Linked DNA regions of Homo sapiens: all the other regions are linked to region 3. Evidence: promoter capture Hi-C in human tissues and cell types (Jung and others, 2019). All regions are on one chromosome and are shown on one strand. Each heading gives the region's core, a stretch centred on a gene start or on the middle of the fragment in contact. The rest is flanking DNA. Distances are from core to core; before and after follow the strand shown.

Region 1 (4,005 bases), core at 176-2,675, 270 kb after region 3:
CTTTACTTTCCAATTTTAAAAGAAGCAGTCGAAAAGGATGGAAGAATCTGAAATATGTTTTGGTAAGTAAGCCCCAAGAAAGTTAATAGGCAGGTAGGTGCCCAGTGCAGTGGCTCACGTCTGTAATCCCAACACTTTGTGAACCCAAGGCGGGCGGATCACCTGAGGTCAGGAGTTCGAGACCAGCCTGGCCAAGATGGCGAAACCCCGTCTCTACTAAAAATACAAAAACTAGCTGGGCGTGGTGGCTGGCACCTATAATACCAGCTACTCGGGAGGATGAGTCAGGAGAATCGCTTGAACCCGGGAGGCGGAGGTTGCGGTGAGCCGAGATCATACCACTGCACCCCAGCCTGGGCGACAGAGTGAGACTCCGTCTCAGAAAAAAAAAAAAAAAAAGTTAATACACAGGAAGAATGAACTACAAAACCGGCTCTATTCAGAGCCTGGAGTCGGACAGACTTGGGTCTTGCTGTTACACTCTTATTTTCTCCACAGCACTTATTAATTTTGTGCTTCTCTAGTTTGTGTGTTTATTGGTGTAAATGACATGTCTCTTCGTCTGGAATGGAGCCCCAGCAGGGTGGAGACCTCATTCACTGCATTAATCAGAACAGTGCCTGCTGCATAGAAGCTGCTCAAACATTTATTGCATAAATACCTTTGTTAATTATTTGTGTGATCCTAGGCAACTTACTTCAGGCGAAGTAATTTCCTTTTGTAAAACGAGTATTGCTATAAAATGCACTGGTATATGCAAAAGTGCTCAGCACACAGTAGGTGCCTCAGACCTTGAGTTGATTCTGCAGAGACACTGCAGGAAGTGGAGGCAATGAAGACAGCTGCCCTGCAGTACACTCAAGAGTGGGCTAAACTGGGGAGGGGCGGGGCAGGGCGGGGTAGGGCAGAGTGGATCCGCGGTGAGTTCCTGCCACACTTCCGACCAGGAGTCTAACGCCGCCGTGGACAGTGCCAATGCCCGAGACCCGGCCGTACCTGATGGTCAGGTTCTCCATGACTCCGGGGAAGCGCTGCAGCTCGTCCCGGAGCTCCTCGAAGGTGATGGCCCCGTTGCCGTCCGCGTCGGCCGATTCGAAGAGCGCCAGCGTCAGCTGGTCCAGCTTCTCGTCAGGCAGCGAGATGGCGCTCTCGCGCAGACACGACTGCAGCACAGTGCGCAGCTCATCCGGGTCAATGGAGCCACTGCCTGTCCCGAGTGGGGATGAAGCCCAGTGCGGGCCTGCCCCAGCACCCCACTCTGTACCTGCAGACGCCCCCTGCCGTGCACACACTGCAAGAAGTGGTGGGCCTCTTCTGTTTACCCACCTCCAGCTTTCTGCCAGTCAGCTTTCCTTGGGGGTATAGACCATGCAACTGAAGGACCAAATGTCACCCTCAGCTCAGAAACCTTCCATGTTCCCGACTGCCTAGCTCAACAGCAATGGACACCTCCCCACGGGTGGAGAATCTTTGGCTTCAGTGGTTGCCTGTCTCCAGAATCGGTAACTCCCTAAGTACTACTCAACTTCCAAGACTATCTGCCCAGAAAATACACCTGCTTACTTAATCTATAAGGGGCGGTGTGCCCACAGCCTCAGTTATCCAAAGGCACACTGTATGTGGGTTAGCGCTGAGGGAGTGTGCCTTGTTGTTCAACTTGGAGCAAATGCTCTGTTTATCATGTTGTCTTGAGAGGGGCCACAGCTAGGCATTCCAGCCCAGCAGTGTGGCCTTATGTAAACATGGGTGGTTGAAAGTGATGGGATAAGGAAGCCAAAACTACCAACAGAGATGAGATTTTTCTGTATTTTATTCTTCCTGAGCAGCAGAGCCCGTGATTAATGATTTCTTGGCCTGCTTTGGATATGGACACACCCAGTGTGGCATCCTGCTCCTGCCCCTCCTTAACTGTGCAATAGTGGGCTCTAAGTCCTCTGGGGTAGTGGACCTCACTTTGCTCATCTCTAAAATGAGAGTAATCATTTCTCCCTCTCAGAACTAGCTCAAGGAAACTCGATAATGGTAAAACACCTAACGCAGTATCTGGGAGAAGGAAATTGCATATACATGGAAATTCTCATTGGTGTTGTGATCATCATTCCGGCCCAAATCACATTACGATGCAGAATCAATTAGAGTATATTATACCACTCTCCAGTCACACCGCCTGTTCTGCTTTCCTAGTCAACAGCCAAGATGACAGCAGGTTTCTGGACTCATCCAGAGGACCAGTCTCCCCCTGGCCCCTTCATGGCCTCTTCTATCTGCTTTAATCTCTCTGTTGGCCAATTTCAAATCCAGGGTCCTCCCTCACAATAATTCTCATGTGCACATTCTCCTTCCTTCTCCCTCTAACCTTCCATTCTACTGACTCTAAGAATATCCCATCCCTGGGTGAAGCCAGCTACCTGTTTTCCGCCCTCTGGCACCAGGGCAGCAAAATGAACATTGCTGAAGAAAAGCTTTTCAGAATGCAGGTCCATCCCTGCGAATCCCTTGCTCAACACACTTTGATGGCTCCCCGTCGCGCGTAAGTTAACTAATTTAACCTTCATCTCAACCCCATGAGTATGAAATATTATTATCATAATTCCTATTTGATAAATAAATTGAGGTACAGAGAAGTTAAGTAACTAGTCTAAGATCATATAATAAGTGATGGAACTGAGATTTGAACTTAGGTAGCTTGTGCTTAGAGTCTTAAATACTACACGATGCTGCATGATACATACAGTGGAGTATAATGCAGCCACTAAAAATGACACTATAAGTACAGTGAGTTACCACTTCACACCCATTAGGATGGCTATTATCAAAAAGCAGAATATAAGGCTGAGCACAGTGGCTCACGCCTGTAATCCCAGCACTTTGGGAGGCCAAGGCGGGTGGATCACTTGAGGCCAGGAGTTCGAGACGAGCCTGGCCAACATGGTGAAACCCTATCTCTATGAAAAATACAAAAATTAGTGGGCATGGTGGTAGGTGCCTGTAGTCCCAGCTACTCGGGAGACTGAGGCTGGAGAATCACTTGAACCTGGGAGGTGGAGGCTGCAATGAGCTGAGATCATGCCACTGCTCTCCAGTCTGGGCAACAGAGTGAGACTCCATCTCAGAAAAAAAAAAAAAAGCAGAAAATTACAAGTGTTAGCAAGAATGTGGAGAACTTGGACCACCTGTACATTACTGGTAGGAATGTAAAATAATGCAGCCACTGTGGAAAACAGTATGGCAGTTCCTCAAAAAATTAAAAATAGAATTACCAGAATTACCATGTCATCCAGCAATTCCCCTTCTGGATATATACCCGGAAGAATTGAAAGCAGGAACTCAAACAGATATCTGTGCACCAATGTTCATAGCAGCATTAATCACGATAGTTAAAACGTAGAAACAGCCCAAATGTCCACTAATTGGTGAATGGATAAACAAAATATGGCATATACCTACAATGGAATATTATTCAGCCTTAAAAGGAATAAAATTCTGTCACATGCTATGACACAGATGAAGCTTGAGGATACTATACTAAGTGACATAAGCCAGATACAAAATGACAAATATTGTATAATCCCACTTAGATGAGGTGCCTAGAGAAGTCAGATTCTTAGAGACAGAATGTATGAATAGAATGGTGGTTGCCAGGGACTAGGGGAGGAGGCATGGGGATTCAGTGTTCAGTGGGCAAGGAGTTTCAATGGAAGGATGAAAAGGTTCTGGAGATGGAGGGTGGTGATGGTGGCACAGCAATGTGAATGTACTTAATTAATGCCACTGACCTGTACACTTAAAAATGGTTAAGATGGCAAATTTTACATTATGTATATTTTACCACAATAAAAATGACACTGTAAAGCAATATATTTTTACATTTCAAAATGTTCATTTTTGTAAGTGAAAAAGTTCATTTTTGTAAGTGAAAAATCCCATTAAAAAATGGGATTCATTTTTTAATCCCATTTTGTTAAAAAAAAAAAGGTGTGTGGCGTGTGTATGTGCAACCAGTTA
Region 2 (4,479 bases), core at 1,540-4,039, 300 kb after region 3:
TGTGGGAACCCAGATGCAGAAAGAATTCTGTTTCTCTCCTCCTTCCTGCATCCCACCTTTGAGCTTGGAGAAGTCTAGAGACTCCCAGAAAATAGGTCTGAGTACAGATGTGGAGATTCCTTATTCCATTGGCTTCTGAACACTTAAAATTCATTTTCAGTCATGTGGGTAAAATTTTAACTGACCCTCCAAAACATGTGTGTGCAGATATTCTTCTGCAAAAGATCTGGTGGTAGCTTTCATTTCTAGATGGAGAAATGGAGGTGCTTCCCACTGCCCTCCACCGGAGGAGGTAACTGAAGAATGCAAGGCTCAGCTCTGCACCTGAAATATAAGGAGGAAAAAGGCAGGGTGGAGTGCTTTGTGGCTTTGGTGGGGAAAGAATCTTGGGTGACCCAGGAACTCTGTAAACTTATGTCTGAATCCAACTTCCTAAGAATCAGTCCTTGGCGTAAGATGAGTAGCTATAAATCCAGACTTTGTACTGGAAGAAGTAAAAATATGATTACTTTTTGTTTTTAAGAGATGCCAAGAACTATCAGGCCTTGGGAATCTCAGAGGAAGGAAATGTAAGCCTCCACGTCTGTCTCTGGTCCCCACTGTGAGCCAAGGCCTGTGATCCTCACCAAAGCAGAACTGACTTCCCTTTCCCCGCCTTTCCCCAACTTGCCTTGCCTTTCTTTGCTTTTTCCTCTGCTTCCTTCCCTTTCCTTCCTCTAATCATATTATTGGCACCCACAGGAATCACAGCATGAATGACAAGGCCTTCCTTTAGAGCAGCAGTCCCAGCCTGTTCCCAGAACACTGGCTCCACAGGAGAAGCATGGGGCATCTGGTGATTCCGTCCACACTGGCGTATTACAGCCTCCATCTTGACCACTCAAGTCCCAGACAGCTGCCAAAAGAGCATCCTCTCACTAAAGACTCTGAGTTCACCTGGACCTACTCTTTAAATCCTAGAGATGCAGAGGAATTGGGGCCGCTGTAGCTTGGTATAGTTTGGGCAATCTCTGGATAGAGTCAGGTCCTTGGATTTAGCACCAAGTTTTGATAGCTCTCCTCATTTCTTCACCTGGTGAATTCCTACTCAACCTTCAGGTACCACCACAAGCACAAGTGTTCCCTTTTCCAGTCCACTCCTCCCCAAGAGAGCTAATTTAGTTCTCTCCTCTAGTTCTCACTACACTGTACTTTTACTCTTTTTTTTTTTTTTTTTTGAGACAAAGTCTCACTCTGTTGCCCAGGCTAGAATGCAGTGGCACAATCTCGGCCCACTGCAACCTCCGCCTCCTGGGTTTAAGTGATTCTCCTGCCTCAGCCTCCCGAGTAGCTGGGCTTACAAGCATGTGCCACCACACCCAGCTAATTTTTGTATTATTAGTAAAGACGGGGTTTCACCATGTTGGTCAGGCTGGTCTTGAACTCCTGACCTCAGGTGATTCACCCGCCTCGGCTTCCCAAAGTGCCGGGATTACAGGCGTGAGCCACCATGCCCAGCCTACTGTACTTTTACTCTATCAGGATATACCTGAATTGAAGAAGAGGAACTCATTGAAAATGTAATGTATAGTAATAACTCACTGAGAAATTAATTTATGTCATTTATTGCTGCTGTCGGCTCACAAGGAAAGAAAAAAAGCTATCCAGAGCTTCACCTATTGGAGGGTGGCATGATTTTCTTCCTAGAGGCAACAAGGATTCTCCAACCCCCTAAGGAGCAATAGACAATTCTTTCTGTTTCTGGGTCTGAGAGAGGAAGCTGAGTAGGCATGGAGGGGCCCTGGTGTGAGAATGGCCAGCCCTGAAGACAACCTCTAAACAAGACTGTGTTTAGAGACCACTGGAGGCAGTTAAGCCAGATTATCCCAGAGGGAAATGAGAATAAAGGCAGTACTGCAAGGTAGAGGGTGAAGATGTTTTTAGGTAAAGAACATTTGTTTTTCCTAAGTGTATAGCACAGAGTGCTGAACGTATTTTCTTCCTAAAGTAACACCGTAGTGTGACACCAACACACTGGCACTGCGAGAGACATTATCTCAACATTTGGGACCCAGGTTGGTGGTGGGATGCTGCATACAGAGCTGGGAAGCCTAGGCCTGCATCTTGCGATCACTAGGAGCAACAGCTGTCATGGCGACCAGAAGCTGCAAGACCCCCTTTCCAGATGGCTAAGTCCCTAGGGGGGGCCTTTGACAAACCCAGGAGAATTCAAGGATATGATGATACAAGACTTCTGGTCAGTCTTGCTTAAAGAGGGTCCAAACAGGATTTAATCTTCTTTTAATAAAAATAAGTCACGCACATAGTGAAAACTGAAACAGTGAGAGAGTAAACAAGGAAAAGAGGGTCTCCCTCCCTCTTCAGGCCCTGGTCTCGCTTTGCAGAGGTAACACCATTAGCAGGGTTTGTTTTTTTTTTATGTACAGATACATGATATGTACAATTATAAAGCTGCCTAAACACACACACACACACACACACACACACACAGGAGTACACTGTGTTGCCCTTAGCCTTTCACCGCCTACTCTGAGGATCATTCTGTATCAGCTTACTCAGCACCAACACATTCTTTTTTAATGGTGGAAAGGATCCCATTTCTCGTCCCCATTCAGTGGAACTTAGACATCCTAGAAACACTACATCAACTGCACCCCAAGTGTCATGGTATAATTTCATTCCTATATTTATACAGGCATGGAAAAAGATCTGAGAGCTGGCCGAGGCTAGAGAGAGATTAATGTCCATGGTACAAAAGGAAAGGGCACTGGAAGGATGAATGTCCAGAGAATAATAATAAAGAGAATGGCCAGGGCCGTGGTATGGGAAAGCCACCAGCCGAGGGCTACCGCACCCAGGAGAAACCCGACACTGACCTGATTGGGTTGGCAGGGGCTGAAGGATATGAGGACTAGGACAGACTGGGCTCCTTCTCATTGGGCCTCCAGGAGCCCATGGTCACATTAGAAGTTGGAGGCCAGCTGATGGACTTTATGGTAGACACCGAGGCTGAACACTCAGTAGTAACCTGACCTATAGGGCCACTATCCAAGAACTGTGCAACTACTGTAGGAGCCACCAGAGTCTCAGAGAAAGGGCCTTTCTGTCAGTCAAGGATGTGCATGATAGTAGGAGAAGAAGTTTAGCATGACTTCCTATACCTCCCAAACTGCCCAGTTCTCTTGCTAGAAAGAGACCTCCTCCAAAAACTGCAAGCACAGATTACATATGGGCCACAAGGGAATGTAACTTTAAACCTAGCTCACCTGGAGACTATGGTATTAACCCTTACTGTCCCACAGGCTGAGGAATGGAGGCTATATGCAAAAAGACTCTGGAACCAGGGGTAAATGAAATGCATGGGGTGCTTACTAAAATTCCTGGAGTTTGGGCTGAAAGTAATCCACTTGGACTGGCTGTAAATCAGGCACCAGTTGTGGTAGAGTTAAAACCGGGAGCAACTCCAGTTCAGGTTCACCAATACCCACTACTCCCCGATGCCATACGGGGTGTCCACAAGCACTTAGAGTGGCTTCATAAGCATGGAATCATAGTCAAATGTGAGTGATCCTGGAACACCCCTCTCTTGCCAGTGCAGAAGGCGTCTGGAGAATATAGGCCAGTGCAGGACTTGCATGCTGTAAACCAGGCCAAAGTGACCATGCACCCAGTGGTGCCAAACCTGTATTCTTTAATGGGACATATTCTGGCAAGTGCTGCCTGGTTTACAGTCCTAGACTTAAAAGATGCATTTTTCTGTCTCTGGCTGGCACCGATTAGTCAGCCTATTTTTGCTTTTCAATGAGGTGAATCACAGTACATTTGGACAAGACTCCCACAGGAATTTAAAAACTCTCCTACAATCTTTGAAGAGGCACTGGCCTCAGACCTTAAAGCCTACACTGCACCAAATAGTGACTGTGTCTTGCTTCACTACATAGATGACCTTCTTCTAGCAGCCCCAACACGAGAGGACTGCTTCCAAGGAACCCAAGACCTCCTGCACCTGCTGTGGAAGGAAGGATATAAAATGTCAGGGAAAAGGCTCAAATTTGCTTTGAAAGTGTCCAGTATTTAGGCTTCTATATAAGCGAAGGGGAAAGATGGCTTGGTAGTGAACAAAAGCAGGCTGTTTGGACACTTTCCACTCCAATCACCTGGTGACAAATAAGAGAATTCCTAGGGGCAGCAGGGTTCTGCCATATCTGCCTCCCAAATTTCTCGCTCATGGCTAAGCCATTATATGAAGCCACAAAGTGGGGAGAGAAGGAACCCCTCCTCTTGGAGGCCAACCAGGAGAAGGCCTTTAAAGAAATCAAAGAAGCCTTAACTCAGGCCCTGGGCAGGGGGCTATCAGTACATGTAGGTGTTCATTTGCACCTTTTCAGGATGGGTTGAGGTTTTCCCCACCAGAACACAGAAAGCACAAGAAGTGACTAAGGTGTTGTTAAAAGACATTATTCTTAGATTTGGACTACT
Region 3 (4,132 bases), core at 1-2,500:
ACCTAGGGGGGTGGGGAGTGGGGTAAAAGAAACAAACCTCTGCTGAGTCAAGGGCACTGCAAGAATGCAGAAGCGACCATGCAGCTCTGGAAGGATGCGGTGGGAAACCCGCCACTCAGTGGTGGAGAAAAGCCCACCAGTTTCTCCAGCAAATGGCTGAGCTTTGTTGGGCCTCCTTGTCTTCTCATCTGCCCATGTGTTAATATCTACTCGCCATTGGTTTGTTAGGTTCAAATGAAATCAGGGATGTGTCCCTTTTTGGCTGCTAGCTCTTCTCAGATCCCCTGACCTCTCCCCATCTCTTCTCTATGGCTCTGCGTGGGAAGGGGCAGTTGTCACCCCCGACTCCCACTAAGCTGAGCCCTCCTCCCAACCTAAGCGGGAGGAAGCCGGTTCTGCTCACGGATAAGAGTTACCGGGCTCCTGAGTTCTTGTTCTGCTGGGCCGGGGTCCACCCCCTCTCCTGGGCTCATCCGACTAGGACTTGGGAAGTGCTAGGGGAGCCAGGAGATGCCCAGCTGGGGGCTGTGGCCGGGGGGAGGCCAATGACAGAGCAGGGGGAACTCCCTGTAGCTGGGCACCCACTTCAACAGGGCCGGGACGACCCCCGCAGGCAGTGGGCCGCCCCTCACCCACACGGTCCTGCTCAGCCCAGGCTCACATCTGGGCTCAGGAGGCGGGAAGCACAGGTGTAAAGAAATCGCCAACTGTGCAGCCCCAATCCAAGGGTTTTATTAAAGTGGGGGCGGCGGGAGGGGGGCGGTGGAGGAAGGATAAGCGGCGCAAACGCCCTGGAGAGTGAGAGAAAAGGTGCGAGAAGGCAACAGCTCCCCTCACCGCCCTCGATTGCAGCAGAGAGCCTTCTGCACGGCGGCGGCCGCCCCACCTTCACACCGGCCCCGCGTGCGGTGAAAGTGGCCGAGCCGCGCCGCCGCCGGATCAGGGCCGCCCCGGCACAAACTTTCCCAGACCCGCCCTCGGAGCGGCCACCCAGGCTCAACGGGCTCCACGGGCGCAGGGCGGCTGGGGCTGCCGCGGAGGGCGGGTGCGCGTGGACCGGGAGGTGGGGAGGCGGCGCGCGGCGGGGAGTCCCGCCCCGGGTTACCTGGGTTCCAAGGGTCTCGGGAGTCCAGTGGACAGGGCGCGGGGACAGCACAGGCAGGCCGGAGACCAGACACTCCTCCCGGGCTGCGGCGACCCCGGACTCGCGGGCCCTGCACCTGGCCCTGCGGGTCGCCGCGCCTACCCATGCCGGTCCCCGCCCGTCCCCTCCCGCGCGGGGCGGGGCGGCCCCGGGGGAGGAGCCGAGGGCCGTGGGCACCACCCCCTGAGCCAGGCCTGCGCCTCATCACGTGCCACCGACCCTGGGCTCTGTGACTTCCAAAGACTCGCCACCCCATTCCACAGCCTGAGGTGCCACCAAAGCCATAAGCCCAGGGGAGTCTCTCACACCCCATTCTCCTAGGGCCCATGTACCCCACGCCCACCTCCACCCCAGGAGCCGAAGGCCGGCAGGGAGCCTGGAGAGCCTCCTTGATGGGAGAACTGCGGAGCTTGCCCCTCGGAAAAGTGCATGGGGTGGAGAACAGGGAAGGAGAAAAAAACAACAACTGGGTACTCGCAGCCCCACCGCGGTGTCCGCTTCGCCGGTGGGAGAGGATCCTCGCCGCCCTGAATCCTTGAAGTGAGTTCCACCCCTGTCTCTTGGAGTGCTCAGGGTGGCGGGCCCTTTGCCAGCCCTCACCCTTTCCCCAGGGATCCTGTCCCAGGTCACAGGCTCCTAGACTGGAAGGCGCTGGGCCTGGACCTCTGCCACTCAGTGGACACAGCTATAAGAGATGAAGGGACACAGAGGACAAAGAAGAAACATTTGGCTTCAGGGAACCAGACTCTGTGTCTCCTCCCAGGTGCTGAAGGAACAGGTTGCAGCTACCTGGTGCCCCCACCCCGACCCTGCCAGAGAAAGGTTGGAACATCCACACCTGTGGACCGAAGTCCCCCACCAGGCTCTTTCCTCCCACCCTTCAGCCCCAGGCTCTCTGAGCTCCTGCTCCTCCCTGCCTTGCCTTGTTTGCTGAGGGCACACACAGTGGAGAGAGCACAGGACTGGGAGTCCAGAGACCTGGGCTCTAGTCTACTCTGTGACTCGGGTCAAGTCTCTGGCCCTTTGTGGGCCCAAGTTGCCCCATTTGCAGTGAATAGGTTGCAGTCAATTATCTCCGGCCATTTTTACGGATCCTGAACCGTGGTCTTGGGCACCTTGCTTTATTAGGCTTTTTGGTGGCTGTGCATCTTGTAAGGGTGTGTATGCATGTGCGTGTGTGTGTGCGTGCGACATGCGCTTGTCCTCTCAGACCCAAGTTCTTAAAGGGAAAGAGACTGGGGCCTACACAGAGGCAGGCATGTATATTCCACAGACCAGAGTTTGACAAGAATGACTGGACACAAGAGTGGAGCCCAGTCCCAGCTCTATGCTGAATTCAGAGTAGCCTTGGACAAGACCCTCACCATCTACAAAATGGAGATTAATAATCCCTGCTTTGCCTTTCCAAGGCTAGTCGGGGGACTCAGTGAGATATTAGATATGAAGCTCTTTGAAGGGGAATAGCACAGGGATGTGTGCTTTTGATGTCTGGGCCAGTGATGGGTTTGGGGGAAGAATAGGGTGTGAAGCATTCTCTGGGAGGCAAAGGCTGGCACTGGACTGATTGGCCACCCTGCCAAAGCTGCAGCATGCACAGCACAGGCAGGCACCCCACCACCAGCAGCCAAGGTGAGCAGAGATGCCTGGTGCCCCACCTGGATTCCTGCCTGCTGTAGGTATCTGTGTGTGCACCTTGAAGAAACTAAAGAGGGAAGATAAAGAGGCTCCCAACCTAAATGGAGGTGGTCAGTGGATTACTGATGAATCGATCTGCATATCTTGGCCAAAATCACCCTCCTCTGCTCTTAGGGAGTTTAAAGTCTAACTGAATGATTGAACATGAACCCTTTGGAGAATGATGTGGAGCCAGGAGAGGGGATTGTGGATGGTGAGCACACAGGATGATCAGAGGAGGGGGAAGGGCAGGGAGGGGCCGGGGAGGGGGGTACTTAGACCACATGGAGATGCATTTAGAGTATTGTGTTCAACACTCCTATTTCATAGTGATGAAATGGAGGCCCAGAGAGGGAAAGTGACCTGCCCAAGGTCACACAGTCACAAGAAGTCAGTAGCAGAGCTAGAACTTGGACCCAGGACTTCAGGAATCTATGCTGGATTTGAGCCTCCTGTGCAGCCGAGGGAGACCTGAAGTGTGGGAAGGACTGGGATACGTACCAGTGGGCAGGAAGAAAGAGTGAGGCAAAGTGCAGAGGTGGGAACTTTGTACAGCAAGGGAAAGGAGCTGGAATCACAGGCAGGATCTGGAAGGAGGGAGCTGCCCAGACCTGGAAAGCCAGGCTGAGCACTGCAGACCACAGAGGGTTTCGAGCTGACACCAGTTGGGAAGATACAGGCGTGCGAGGGGCACACGCCCAAATGACCCAGTGAGACAGCAGGTGACATGACAGCAAGGCAGCAAGGAGACGGGGAAGAGCAGCTCCAGGAGTCAGGCAACCTCCAATCAAATGGCCTTGAGCAAGTTGTCTCTCTTCTCTGACCCTCAGTTTCTTTTTTGTGGAGTGAGAGATAATCATCTTTTTTTCCTTTCAGGGTTATTGTAGTGACCACAGAATGCATTTGGAAGTGCTCTGTAAACTGCAGAGTGCTAAGTAAATTTAATATTTGGAGTTGTGTTTTATTTTCCAAAGGGCTCAGTAAACATTTGTGGAACTGACTGATATTGGATTGGACACTCTCCTCATGGCAATGGGCAGAGGGACCACAAACGGAGGGGGGCAGGGATTGGGGTGGTCAGAGGGAGTCCTGGCAAGGGTGTGAAGGAAGGAGAGCTTCAGTCTTAAATGTGAGTCTCCCTCTGACATCTTTACAACATAACTCAAAAAGCCTTTTTGGGGGGAAACAGTCCTACCCCAATCCATGTGACTCAAAATGCCCCATCTCTTCCTTTGCCTGTGTGTTCAAGGGGCGCCATATCAGATGTCACTATTCTATGTGTTCTTCACCCATCCCCACTGGCCATCTACTCCT

Evidence for each region. The method cuts DNA at HindIII sites, captures the fragments that hold promoters and counts their contacts. A contact is called where the count stands out against the background at its distance.
Region 1: a fragment that was not itself captured here is called in contact with the fragment with the promoter of PAQR5 in region 3 in 1 of the 25 tissues and cell types used here (IMR-90 fibroblasts).
Region 2: a fragment that was not itself captured here is called in contact with the fragment with the promoter of PAQR5 in region 3 in 2 of the 25 tissues and cell types used here (liver and spleen).

The regions. Positions count from the first base shown.
Region 1 is chr15:69,028,804-69,032,808 of GRCh38, reverse strand. SPESP1-NOX5 (SPESP1-NOX5 readthrough) reads right to left here. Exons shown (of 17, transcript NR_033672.2): 5 at 997-1,207. It overlaps NOX5 (NADPH oxidase 5), which reads right to left. Exons shown (of 16, transcript NM_024505.4): 4 at 997-1,291. Among named protein-coding and RNA genes, the nearest start is that of NOX5, 16 kb to the right of the region's middle. The HindIII fragment of the contact is 3,122 bases long and covers 1-2,986 here.
Region 2 is chr15:68,993,585-68,998,063 of GRCh38, reverse strand. The region is part of intron 2 of SPESP1-NOX5 (SPESP1-NOX5 readthrough); the gene reads right to left. Among named protein-coding and RNA genes, the nearest start is that of NOX5, 19 kb to the left of the region's middle. The HindIII fragment of the contact is 6,685 bases long and covers 1-4,479 here.
Region 3 is chr15:69,296,030-69,300,161 of GRCh38, reverse strand. It overlaps PAQR5 (progestin and adipoQ receptor family member 5), which reads right to left and starts at 1,250. Exons shown (of 9, transcript NM_017705.4): 1 at 1,106-1,250. PAQR5-DT (PAQR5 divergent transcript) reads left to right here and starts at 1,399. Exons shown (of 3, transcript NR_184010.1): 1 at 1,399-1,684. The HindIII fragment of the contact is 6,076 bases long and covers 1-4,132 here.